Regions from separate parts of the Homo sapiens genome. Here region 1 is linked to region 2. The links are contacts of gene promoters, found by promoter capture Hi-C in blood cells and fetal thymus (Javierre and others, 2016). All regions are on one chromosome and are shown on one strand. The core of a region is centred on a gene start or on the middle of the fragment in contact, and the rest is flanking DNA. Distances in the headings are between cores, read along the strand shown.

What was found. Contacts are between HindIII fragments. The CHiCAGO score rates a contact against its expected background, and 5 or more counts as called.
Region 1: a contact is called between the fragment with the promoter of RAB39A here and the fragment with the promoter of ALKBH8 in region 2, in 1 of 17 cell types (monocytes). The highest score is 6.3, in monocytes.

Annotation. Positions count from the first base shown.
Region 1 is chr11:107,925,574-107,931,202 of GRCh38, forward strand. It overlaps RAB39A (RAB39A, member RAS oncogene family), which reads left to right and starts at 2,875. Exons shown (of 2, transcript NM_017516.3): 1 at 2,875-3,222. The coding sequence starts at 2,996. RefSeq lists silencers at 2,611-3,100, 3,131-3,350. The HindIII fragment of the contact is 18,255 bases long and covers 1-5,629 here.
Region 2 is chr11:107,563,598-107,569,259 of GRCh38, forward strand. ALKBH8 (alkB homolog 8, tRNA methyltransferase) reads right to left here and starts at 2,138. Exons shown (of 12, transcript NM_138775.3): 1 at 2,004-2,138. RefSeq lists enhancers at 1,489-2,007, 1,811-2,300, 2,008-2,524, 2,371-2,430, 4,359-4,438. The HindIII fragment of the contact is 7,705 bases long and covers 1-4,045 here.

The DNA.
Region 1 (5,629 bases), core at 1,625-4,124, 360 kb after region 2:
GCCTGTAGTCCCAGCTACTCAGGAGGCTGAGACAGGAGAATCGCTTGAACCCAGGAGGCGGAGGCTGCAGTGAGCCAAGATCGCGACAGAGCAAGATTCCGTCTCAAAAAAAAAAAAAAAAAAAGGAGAATGACAACTAAAACTAGATGACACTGCAGTGGGGTGGTGGTGAGGATGGTGGGGGTGGGGGCTTGGATTTAATAATTAGGATGTCCCTGACAGCCTTATCAAAAGCAGTGGTATATTAGGCACAGAGAGTATGTTAGGGGTATATAAGCCTCCTTGAAGACTAACTGGTAGATGAGAAATGATAATAGATCATCATTTCTGATATTTGAAAAGGAGAATGATGGAGGAGTCAACAATCTGAAGGGGAAGCGTAATGAAGAGGTGTTTTGCTTAGTTTTAGAATTGTAGATAATTGAGCATGTTTATAGGCTGAGGAGCAGAAGCCACTGGAGAAGGGGAGATTCAAGGTATAAAAGGTATGAAATAAAAGTCAACTGTTGGGAAAAGCCCCAAAAAGATAAGTGAAAGGGGATTAAACACAGCCAACACCAATTCCTCCAAAACAGCAAAGGAAATAGGGATGAATATCGATATAAGAATTTGGGATGTGCACAAGAAAAAAGTGGAATTGTTGAAAATTTTGTTTTGGTAAACACACACTTTTTTTTTTGAGACGGAGTTTTGCTCTCGTTGCCCAGGCTGGAGTGCAATGGCACAATCTCGGCTCACTGCAGCCTCCACTTCCCGGGTTCAAGCGATTATCCTGCCTCAGCCTCCCAAGTACCTGGGGTTACAGGCATGTGCCACCATGCTTGGCTAATTTTTGTAGCTTTTTTTTTTTTTTTTTTTTTTTGAGACGAGGAGTCTTGCTTTGTCGTCCAGGCTGGAGTGCAGTGGCACCATCTCAGCTCACTGCAACTTCTGCCCCCCAGGTTCAAGCGATTCTCCTGCCTCAGCCTCCCGAGTAGCTGGGATTACAGGCGCCTGCCACCGTGCGTGGCTAATTTTTGTATTTTTAGTAGAGAGGAGGTTTCATCATCTTGGCCAGGCTGGTCTTGAACTCCTGACCTTGTGATCCACACACCTCGGCCTCCCAAAGTGCTGGGATTACAGGCATGAACTACTGCACCCGGCCATTTTTGTAGTTTTAATAAAGACGAAGTTTCGCCATGTTGGCCAGGCTGGTCTCGAACTCCTGACCTCAGGCGATCTGCCCGCCTCGTCCTCCCAAAGTGCTGGGATTACAGGCGTGAGCCACTGCGACCGGCCTAAACACACACTTTTATTTATTTATTTATTTTCTTTGAGATGGAGTTTCGCTCTTGTTGCCCAGGCTGGAGTGCAATGGCACGATCTCAGCTCATCACAACCTCTGCCTCCCGGGTTCAAGCAATTCTCCTGCCTCAGCCTCCCGAGTGGCTGAGATTACAGGCATGCACCACTACGCCCGGCTAATTTTGTATTTTTAGTAGAGACGGGGTTTCTCCATGTTGAGGCTGGTCTCGAACTCCTGACTCAGGTGATCCACCCGCCTCAGCCTCCCAAAGTGCTGGGATTACAGGCGTGAGCCACCGCGCCCGGCCTAACACACACTTTTAAACTGTTTCACTTTTTAAAGATAAACCTTGACGTCACTATTACTCAATTTGAGGAAAGGCACAAGAAAGTAGTAAGATCTCACCAGAATTTAAGTTCTGCTTTGTTTACTTACATCATTAATCAGACATGAGCTAAGAGACCACCTGTTCGCTTTTTTCTGACTTAAACAATGGAGACCAAGGAGAGCTGAAAATTTCATGAGCTTCTCAACATTTCCCCGGCTTTTTTTTTTTTTTTTTTTTTTGCCACTGTCCCCAGGGTTGGAGGGCCCCAGAGGGTATGGGGATGATACTTGGCGTTTCTCACTCTTCTGTGGTACTCATAGCAGTGAAGAACAGACAGTGGCAGCACGCAGCAACAGCCAGAGCCCTTGCTAGAAGCACCCAGAACTGGCTGTGCAAATTTATTTCAATCCTGCCCAAAACTCCTTCACCTTAAAATGCCTTGGAGGTGGCTCTCATCAAGACAAGAAAGCAGGGTGTGGTGGCTCACACCTGTAATCCCAGCACTGGGAGGCTGAGCCTGGAGGATCACTTGAGGTCAGGAGTTCGAGACCAGCCTGGGCAACACAGCAAGACCCCATCTCTACAAAAAGTTAGAAAATTAGCGGGATGTGGTGGCCCCCGCCTGTAGTCCCAGCTACTCAGGAGGCTGAGGTGGATGGATCGCTTGAACCTAGGAGTTTGAGACCAGCCTAAGCAACATAGCGAGACCACATCTCTAAAAAAAAAATTTTTTTTTAACCCAGAAGAAAATTAGCCAGGTGTGATGGCTCACACCCGTGGTCCCCGCTGCTTGGGAGGCTGAGGTGGGCAGATCGCTTGAGGCTGCAATGAGCCGAGATCTCACCACATCAATCCAGCCTGGGGGACAAAAAAAAAAGAGGAATCAAAGCAATGACCCAAGTTATGGCCTCAGGGACTTCCAAAATCAGAGCCCTAATCTGACCAACCCGCCCTGACGCCTGTAAGAAAACGACTCTCACTTTTCATTGGCTGACCCTCCCGGAGTTGAGACCTTGCTTCATTTTCCTTGGTTGTTGCTGCTGTCACGTCTTCCCGCCACGCCCACTTTCCTGCCGGCGCCCAGTGAGCGTTGAGGGAGAGTGATTTGCAGCCGGTCAGGGGCGGGAGTTCGCGGCAGCAAACCTGCTTCCCCCTCCCACGCGCCACCGCCCCCGCCCCGCCCCCGTCCAGAGGCCCCGCCCCTAGCCGGGCCTGGCCCCGCCTCTCTCTCCCGAGAGGGCGGGCACCAGGCGGCGGCCGCAGCCGCAGGAATATGCTGGAAGGCGGCGGGCGGGCGCCCGCGAGGTGCTGAAAGGACAGTTCCCGCCGCCGAACTTAGCCCGCGGGTGGGGCGGCCCGGGAGCCAGCGGGGCACGTGAGCGATGGAGACCATCTGGATCTACCAGTTCCGCCTCATCGTGATCGGGGACTCCACCGTGGGCAAGTCCTGCCTCCTGCACCGCTTCACCCAGGGCCGCTTCCCCGGGCTGCGCTCCCCCGCCTGCGACCCCACCGTCGGCGTGGACTTCTTCTCCCGCCTGCTGGAGATCGAGCCGGGCAAGAGGATCAAGCTACAGCTCTGGGACACGGCGGGACAGGAGCGGTTCAGGTAGGGACCCCGGGGACCTTGGGCACCGCGCCGCCCCCTCAGCCCGCCCGGACGCCCCTTCCCCAGGCGTCCGCCCCGCCGGCCCTGGTCGGGAGAGGCTCTGGCCCTTCCCTCTCGAAAGTGCAAACACTCCATTCTCGCTTCCCCTTTGCCCCTCCTCTTCCAGGGACGACTTCCTCCTCCGCAATTTCTCACTTCTTTCTTTGGCGCCCATTTCCTGCGCCCCCTTTCCATCTTTCCTTTCCCGCCTGAACCGGGGTCGTCCTCGCCGCCCCCTCTTCCCCAACTCTTTCAGCCCCTGTGGGTATTTTTATCCCCTCCGGCTCCCCGGCTGCCTTCTTCCCAAACTCGGCTTCCCTGGCTGCGCACAGCATGACCCGACCACCCTCCTCCAAGCAGGCGCCCCTTTTCCTACCCTAACCCAGCGGCTCCCACGCTGTGTGGCCGGGGAGAACCGCGAGGGAGGGTTCCCAGATTCGTGATGGATCCTTTAGCTTCACAGCAAGGAGCGCTCCAACCCAGGTTCCTGCATGAGCTCACTGGGCATGGTTCACAGAGAGGTGGATGCGGTAATGGTTTGGGCACCTCACAGCACTGAATGTGGTCATCAGAAATACTGGGTCATGACCCGTGGGAATGGGTCTTGTAGGTTAACTAGATGCAACATCAGGGACACTGGCACAGCTGAGGGTGTGTGTGTGTGTGTGTGTGTATGTGAAGGGTTGAGTTGTCTTTAGAAGTTTGTCATGTTTGGTGGGAAAAAGACATATATTGAGATTCGCCAGGAACTTTAATTTTGCTTATGATCAGTACTTAACGTTCCAGGGTGATAATATTTCTAAAGACAGAAGGAGGGATCCAAATGAATAGTCTCCTCCTAAATATCCGCTGGGGACATGAAGGGTTTCACAAAGGCGACTTGTGTAAATAAAAAGTAAATGAAATTATATGCATTTCCTGAATATTTGAGATGGAAGCAGGTTTAAAGCAAATTTTAAATGTCTAGGATTCAAAGGCACTTCGTTTTAGAGGAAGATGGTGAAACTGATGTATTGTACTGTTCTGTTTCTTAAAGACTGCATTATCCATTGGAACTCATTTAAGGAAGCATTTTGCGTTAGTCAGCAAGTACTCTGCTTGTGAAATGCAGTGTTCCATGAGGGGACTTCCCAAACATGGCTTCCCCTCGCCCCCAGCCAGCATCACTGCGAATGAGATCAGCCTACATCTGTGAGAATGGTCCAACATTCAAAGTTTTGGCTTCCGTTCCTAGCAATGATGCTGATTCATAGAGATAATGAGTGAACTGCTTAGCTTGCTTATACCTTAGTTTTCGTGTGTGTGAAGTGGAAAGATGGTAAGGCCAGCGCTTCAGAGAGGTGTTAAAAGATTATTGATTGGATTTGTACAACACGTAGAATTCCATGAAAAATGTTTTTCCTTTTCAAGAAGCCTCCTTTTATTAAAATAATTTTTCAAATGTTTGATTCCTCATCTGTAAAATGAAAGTCGTCGTGATCTCTAACATTCCTTCCAGTTTTACCATTCTAAGTTGATTGCCAATTCCTTCACATGTGATCTCAATCAGAGGTAAACTTTGCGATATATCAGGCTCAGAAAAAAAGCATTTGCTGTTAGCTCTTGACCCCCCCTCTGAAGTGAATACAATAAAAACCTTTATGTCTTAAACTTCTAACAGCTACTTTGAGTTGCAACTACAAGACACATGGGTAATAAAATCTTATTGTGTTTAATTAGTTCCTTAAAAGTAGCTCAACTTGGCTGGGCAGGGTGGCTCACGCCTGTAATTCCAGCACTTTGGGATACTGAGGCGGGTGGATCACAAGGTCAAGAGTTCAAGACCAGCCTGGCCAATAAGGTGAAACCCTGTCTCTACCAAAAATACAAAAATTAGCTGGGCATGGTGGTGTGTGCCCGTAGTCCCAGCTACTCAGGAGGCTGAGGCAGGAGAATCGCTTGAACCTGGGAGGCAGAGTTTGCAGTGAGCCAAGATCACGCCACTGCACTCCAGCCTGGGTGACAGAGCCAGACTCAGTCTCAAAAATAAATAAATAAATAAATAAGTAGCTCAACTTATTGACAAGAAATTAAATGATAATTAATTTGTTAGACTTTAAAGACCTTTCTGCTAAATAGATGATAGAGATGATTGTTTTTTAACTTTTTTTTTTTTTTTTGAGACGGAGTTTCGCTCTTGTGGCCCAGGCTGGAGTGCAATGGCGCGATCTCTGCTCACTGCAAACTCCGCCTCCCAGGTTCCAGCAATTCTGCAGCCTCAGCCTCCCGAGTAGCTGGGATTACAGGCATGCACCACTACACCTGGCTAATTTTGTATTTTTAGTAGAGACGGGGATTTCCCCATGTTGGTCAGGCTGGTCTTGAATTC
Region 2 (5,662 bases), core at 888-3,387:
TCTGAGGCCCTTCAAAGGAGCTATTTTAGAGCCATTCCATTTCAAGATCTTCATCTGTGGAACAGCAACTTTGCAGTATGTCATGGAGAACAAGGGATGACTGCACTACAGAATTTTTAATATTTCACATGAGCAAACACTGCAAAGAAGGAATGAGAAAGAAACGATGCTAAATATATCTTTTTAAAATGTCTGCCACTAAGAGTCCAGCACCAGCAGGTGGAGCCTCATAACCACATTTTTGTCATCCCTTTCCTTTTTCTCTCCCTCAGTCATGCAATATTATTGCACGTGAAGAAAGACACTAAATGGCCTTTGAGGCTCAGTTTTCCACCATTCCAGTGGCTAGGCAATGTGCTGGCCCAACATATCTGAGTCATCTCAACAAGGATAGGCTGATACCAGCTGCTGAGGTCTGGAGGTGCCCCCTTCTGACAAAGCCACTTCCCTGGCCAGAGTTTCCACTAATGCACAGATACTTGGATGCTCCCTGTGACATTACTGGAGTGAAGTCACTATTAACTATGATACTAGCCATGCTGAGTCCGGTTCAGCCAGCTCCAGCCTAAGCGTACTCTCTGTGGGATAATGAAAGTTTGGAGATTATGCATGCTCTGCTACTTGCTTGTTAGTGAGTTTAAAGCCAATATATCCTACTAGATATTGCCCTACGTGGTAATAGTAGTATGTACATCATGCCCTCCTTGAATAATAGAGAGCCTATTATGAAACAAGCAGTATAGACAAATGTTCCTATACTTATATGTTTAAAAAAATGCAAAAACCATGATTACTTTTGCACAACCTAATAATTAATAGCAAAGATTAGAAAGAATCTAACTTCCTATCAAACGAGGCCCAATTTTAACGTACGGCACTGGTATACAGAGTTTACATATAAATCTTTAGGACACACAAGAAATTGGTGATATGGGTTGCCTCCAGGGAAGGAAAATGGATCGATGAGTAAAGGAATGAAAGGGAGCTTTCTTCTTTCATGACTTTTGAAGTTAGTAGCTATTTAAACTGCATCATCTATTTAAAAAGAAAATAAAGATTTAAAATTTTTAGAAAAAAATTCACCCCATCACTTGTCACGGCACCCCGTTTTAACTCTTTGAATAACACTTACTACATATTTTCTTACACTCTCATTAATTTGTTTATTCTGTCTTTCCCCATAACTGAATAAAGAACACTCACTCCATGAAGTAGAGATTTTGTCTCTATTGTTCACCCTGTAGCACCCAGCACTTAAACAGGATTTAGCACCTAGCAGCCACTCAATAACCATTTGTCGAATAAACCTAAATCGACTTTGCTGTCTTACCTCCTAAACCTCCCCTCCTCCAGAATTCTGAGTTTGGTGGCCTTCTTCAACGTTTTCATTAACACCTAGCATGGACCTCTATCTCTAGAGTTCTCACATGGTATTATAATTGCCTGTTTGTGTTGGGCTTCGGCCAGAAAACTGTCATCTATTTAAGGGCACAGACTTGGTGCCTGACATACAACTGACAATAAATATTCAATGAAATCTATCAAAATAACAGGCTGACGCTACCAGAGGTCCAGGAGTCGCAGGGATTGCTCAAATAAGAGCACAGGAAGACTCAGCTGCGCAAGGGATCAGATCATCAGCACTGCCTTTGCATCGATGCAATCAGACCGATTGTCACCGGTCAGAAAAGCCCCAGAAGCGCCACACTAACACGCCCCATGTTGCAACCGTCCTCTCCAACCCCAAAGAAAACAGAAGATTGACACAGGCACCACGTGAGCGCCCGAACCAAACACAAACACATGCACCCTAAACACTGAGAGAACCACCCAACGCAGACACCCTACTGCCCACACTGCACCAAGGGCGCCTCTGGGATCCATCCCCTTTCCCTAGGTTCTCAGCCCTAGCTGGCAAGGCGGATAGAGAAGACCGGAAGAGGCTGAAAAGAGGAAGCGGTGATTTGCTGCCCGTATGCCCGCCAGTAAGAAGTGCCACACACCTCCGCTTCGGCTCAGGCCGGATTCTCACCATGCGTGTGCCTTCTTCTTTGCCAGCCTCTCCACTCTAGCACCAGAACACCGCAGCGGATACTTGCACGCCATCTCCCCTGGGCGCGGCCATGTTGGAGAAAACTGCACTACATTTCCCATGAGCCCGCGGGACAACGAACAGCGCTCCCACAGTCCTCTTCGCCTCCCAGAGCCCGGGAGTGACCCTTTTTCGACCAAGTGTCTTTGTAAAGTGCTGTCTGTTACACTGAAAATTCAGTTGTCTTTTTGGGGGGAGTAGTAATAATTGGTAGTGCAGCTATATTTTTATCTGTTGCTCTCCAAATGGACAAGGTCAAACAGGTTTGGGCCCTTTGGTCTTTCAGCAATGTCCCCTGGCACCTTCTATTCTTCGTGCATATTTCCTCCTGAATCTTATTAGAGGTGAGAAAGGAAAATAAATCTTGGTGCCACAAAATCACTAAGCTAAAGGGAAAAGTCAAGCTAGGAACTGCTTGGGCAAACCTGCCTCCCATTCTATTCAAAGTCATCCCTCTGAGTCATCCCTCTGCTCACTGAGATAAATGCATATCTGATTGCCTCCTTTGGAAAGGCTCATCAGAAACTCAAAAGAATGCAACCATTTGTCTCTCAGCTGTAATACGTGCGACCTGGAAGCCCCCTCCTCACTTTGAGTTGGCCCGCCTCTGCTTCAATTTGTCCCTCCTTTCTGGACGGAACCAATGTTCATCTTACATATATTGATTGATGCCTCATGTCTCCCTAAAATGTATAAAACCAAGCTGTGCCCCGACCACCCTGGACACATATCATCAGGACCTCCTGAGGCTGTGTCACGGGCGGGCGTCCTTAACTTTGGCAAAATAAATTTCCTAAATTGTCTGAGACCTGTCTCAGATATTCAGGGTTCACAGAGATATGGGAGAGGATCCTGGGGTCTGAAAGATGGCATTGCATGGGCGGGAGGGAAGGAAGTGAATATGCATGAATGTGCCAGGGGAATGGTGAGTACCACAGAGTAATAGAAAGATGTGTGGAAGAATGGTGAAGGAAGCAAGACAGAATTCTGTAGGCCTGCAGAGTGGGAGTTGCAGGGAGGAAGGTTAGAGAAATGAAATGATATGACCAGAGCTTCTTGTGGCAAGTGGGAGGAGAGACTAGAAGATGACTGATGAAGTGAAAAGTAACGAAATATTAACAAGCCCAGTAGTGGCAGAGGGAAAGAAAAAAGAGCTGGTAACAGATCATAAGTAAAAGACAAAGGAGAGGGTGATGATTAGCAGTTGTTCCTGCTCTGTTATTTGTTATATAAATGTACCATAATCCTTCTACCTGCATTGGTTTATGAGCTATGTGAGTGCAGGGAGGGAAAGGTGTAGGGGAAGAGGAATCACCTTCCCATGTTGTTGATACAATGGCCCCTATCTGCAGTGCACCACAGTGGACTAACAATAAAATAGCTGGCTGACCAGGAAAAGTGGCAGTGAAAAAAGAGTGCTGTTGAGTGGCGGAATGATTTGTGTGGAGAATAGGTTACAAACATGAAAGAACAGAAGAGGCAGATAGGCAAGCATTGCAATAGTCTAGGAAAGAAAGGGTGAGACCAAAACTTAATAGTAAAAATGAGGAGGCAAGTGCAAGCTGGAGAGGTCAAATCCACCAGACATTGCAAGCTACATGAGTATAAGAGGACACACAGGAAATCTCCCCATTGCAATTCTGCTTCTGCACTACTGGATGCTTTCAAAAACACATCCCCATAGAGCTTTCTGCAATGATGGAAATATTTTATAGTTTGAGCTGTCCAACATAATAGACACTAGTTAACGTGTGGCTTATGAGCATTTCAAATGTGGCTAGTATGACTAAGGAAATGAATTTTGAATGTTTAAATTTTAGTTTCAATTAAACTTAAGTAGCCACAAGTGGCCGGTGTCTACCAAACTGGATAACAGTGTAAAATATCCTCTTATCTCTTACTGATCAAATTCAATTACTTCATCTCAGTATTTGTCCTGCTTTAAGGTGCTGAAGCTTTTAAAACTTTTTTTCTGCACCTCTCTTTTAATTCTCTTTATACGATCTGATCACTTACTTTCAGAATTTTCCACTAGTTTCTCTCACTCTGTCCGTAATTAAATATAGGCAATCCCTCAGATTTTGAGTTTGACTCTTTTCTGTTATTCTAGTCTCTTCCTGTCTGCCCTCCCCAGAGTTATAAAGAGATTTGTGAATCATTCCCTAATCTTTATCTTCAGCCCTGGCTTCTATTAAAAGAAAAACTTTAGCCAAATTAAATTTAAAGGAGTTTAATTGAGCAATGAACTTTTGATTCGTAAATCGGGCAGCCCCCAGAATCACAGCAGATTTGGAGAGACTCCAGCACAGCCATGTGGTGGAGGATTTGTAGACAAAAAAAAAAAAAGGAAATGATGTACAGAAATCAGAAGTGAGGTGCAGAAACAGCTGTTATTGGTTACAGGTTGGTGTTTGCCTTATTTGAACACTGTTCAAACAATTGGCTACATTTGATTGGCCAAAACTCAGCGATTGGCACAGGTGTGGGCTATGGTTGGTTTACTCCTCCACTTGTTCACGATGTACAGAAAAACCTTTAGGCTGAACTTAAATATGTAAGGAGGCAGCTTTAGGCTAAACTTGATTAACACTTCCCTTTAGAAACCAGAGTGGTTTCTAAAGAATATGGGGGCATTGGAGTATGACCTGAAATCAAAACTACAAAACAGCATTTATTTTGTTGAGATTTACGTGATAATTAATAAAACACCAAACAGAGATTAGCTGTTAAGTGATTATTCATTTATCTTCTTCTCCTGAGTTACAAGCCTTCATTTCCCATTATCTGCTGCCCATCCATGTCTCAATATCTCCAGAAAAAGGTGAATACATATACAATTTTGTGTGACATCCTTTGTATACAGACCCTTATCTTTTCTTGGAATATTGCATAGACCATTTCTTCTAAGGAAGATGATTCCCCAAAAGATTTTCAGGTACACTGAGACCTTGTTTTATTTATTATGTAACCACAATGTCTTCCATAGTCTTGTAATACTAGAAATTTAATAAATGTTGAGCTGAAAAGGAATTTTTATTTGAAGATATAATTCATCTTCACCTGTGCCAAACACTTTACATGGTGATCTATAATAATTTTTCAAAAGTATGAAATGCTGACCTGTTTCCTTAGTAAAACCTTAGTCTCAACTTCATGAGAGGTGAGTCCTCTATGTGACTAGTAGTGGGGTCAGCAAGATTTTACTGTAAAGGACCAGATAATAAATATTTTCAGCTTTGTGGCCAAATATTCTTTGTTTTTATTTTTTTACTTTTATTTTTTGGGATGGAGTCGCACTCTGTCGCCCAGGCTGGAGTGCAGTGGCACAATCTCAGCTCACTTCAACCTCTGCCCCCTGGATTCAAGCGATTCTTCTGCCTCAGCCTCCTGAGTAGATGGGATTACAGGCACGCGCCACCATGCCCAGCTAATTTTTTGTTTTTTGTTTTTTATTTTTTTATTTTTATTTTTATTTTTTTTTGAGACGGAGTCGCTCTGTTGCCCAGGCTGGAGTGCAGTGGTGCGATCTCGGCTCACTGCAAGCTCTGTCTCCCAGGTTCACGCCATTCT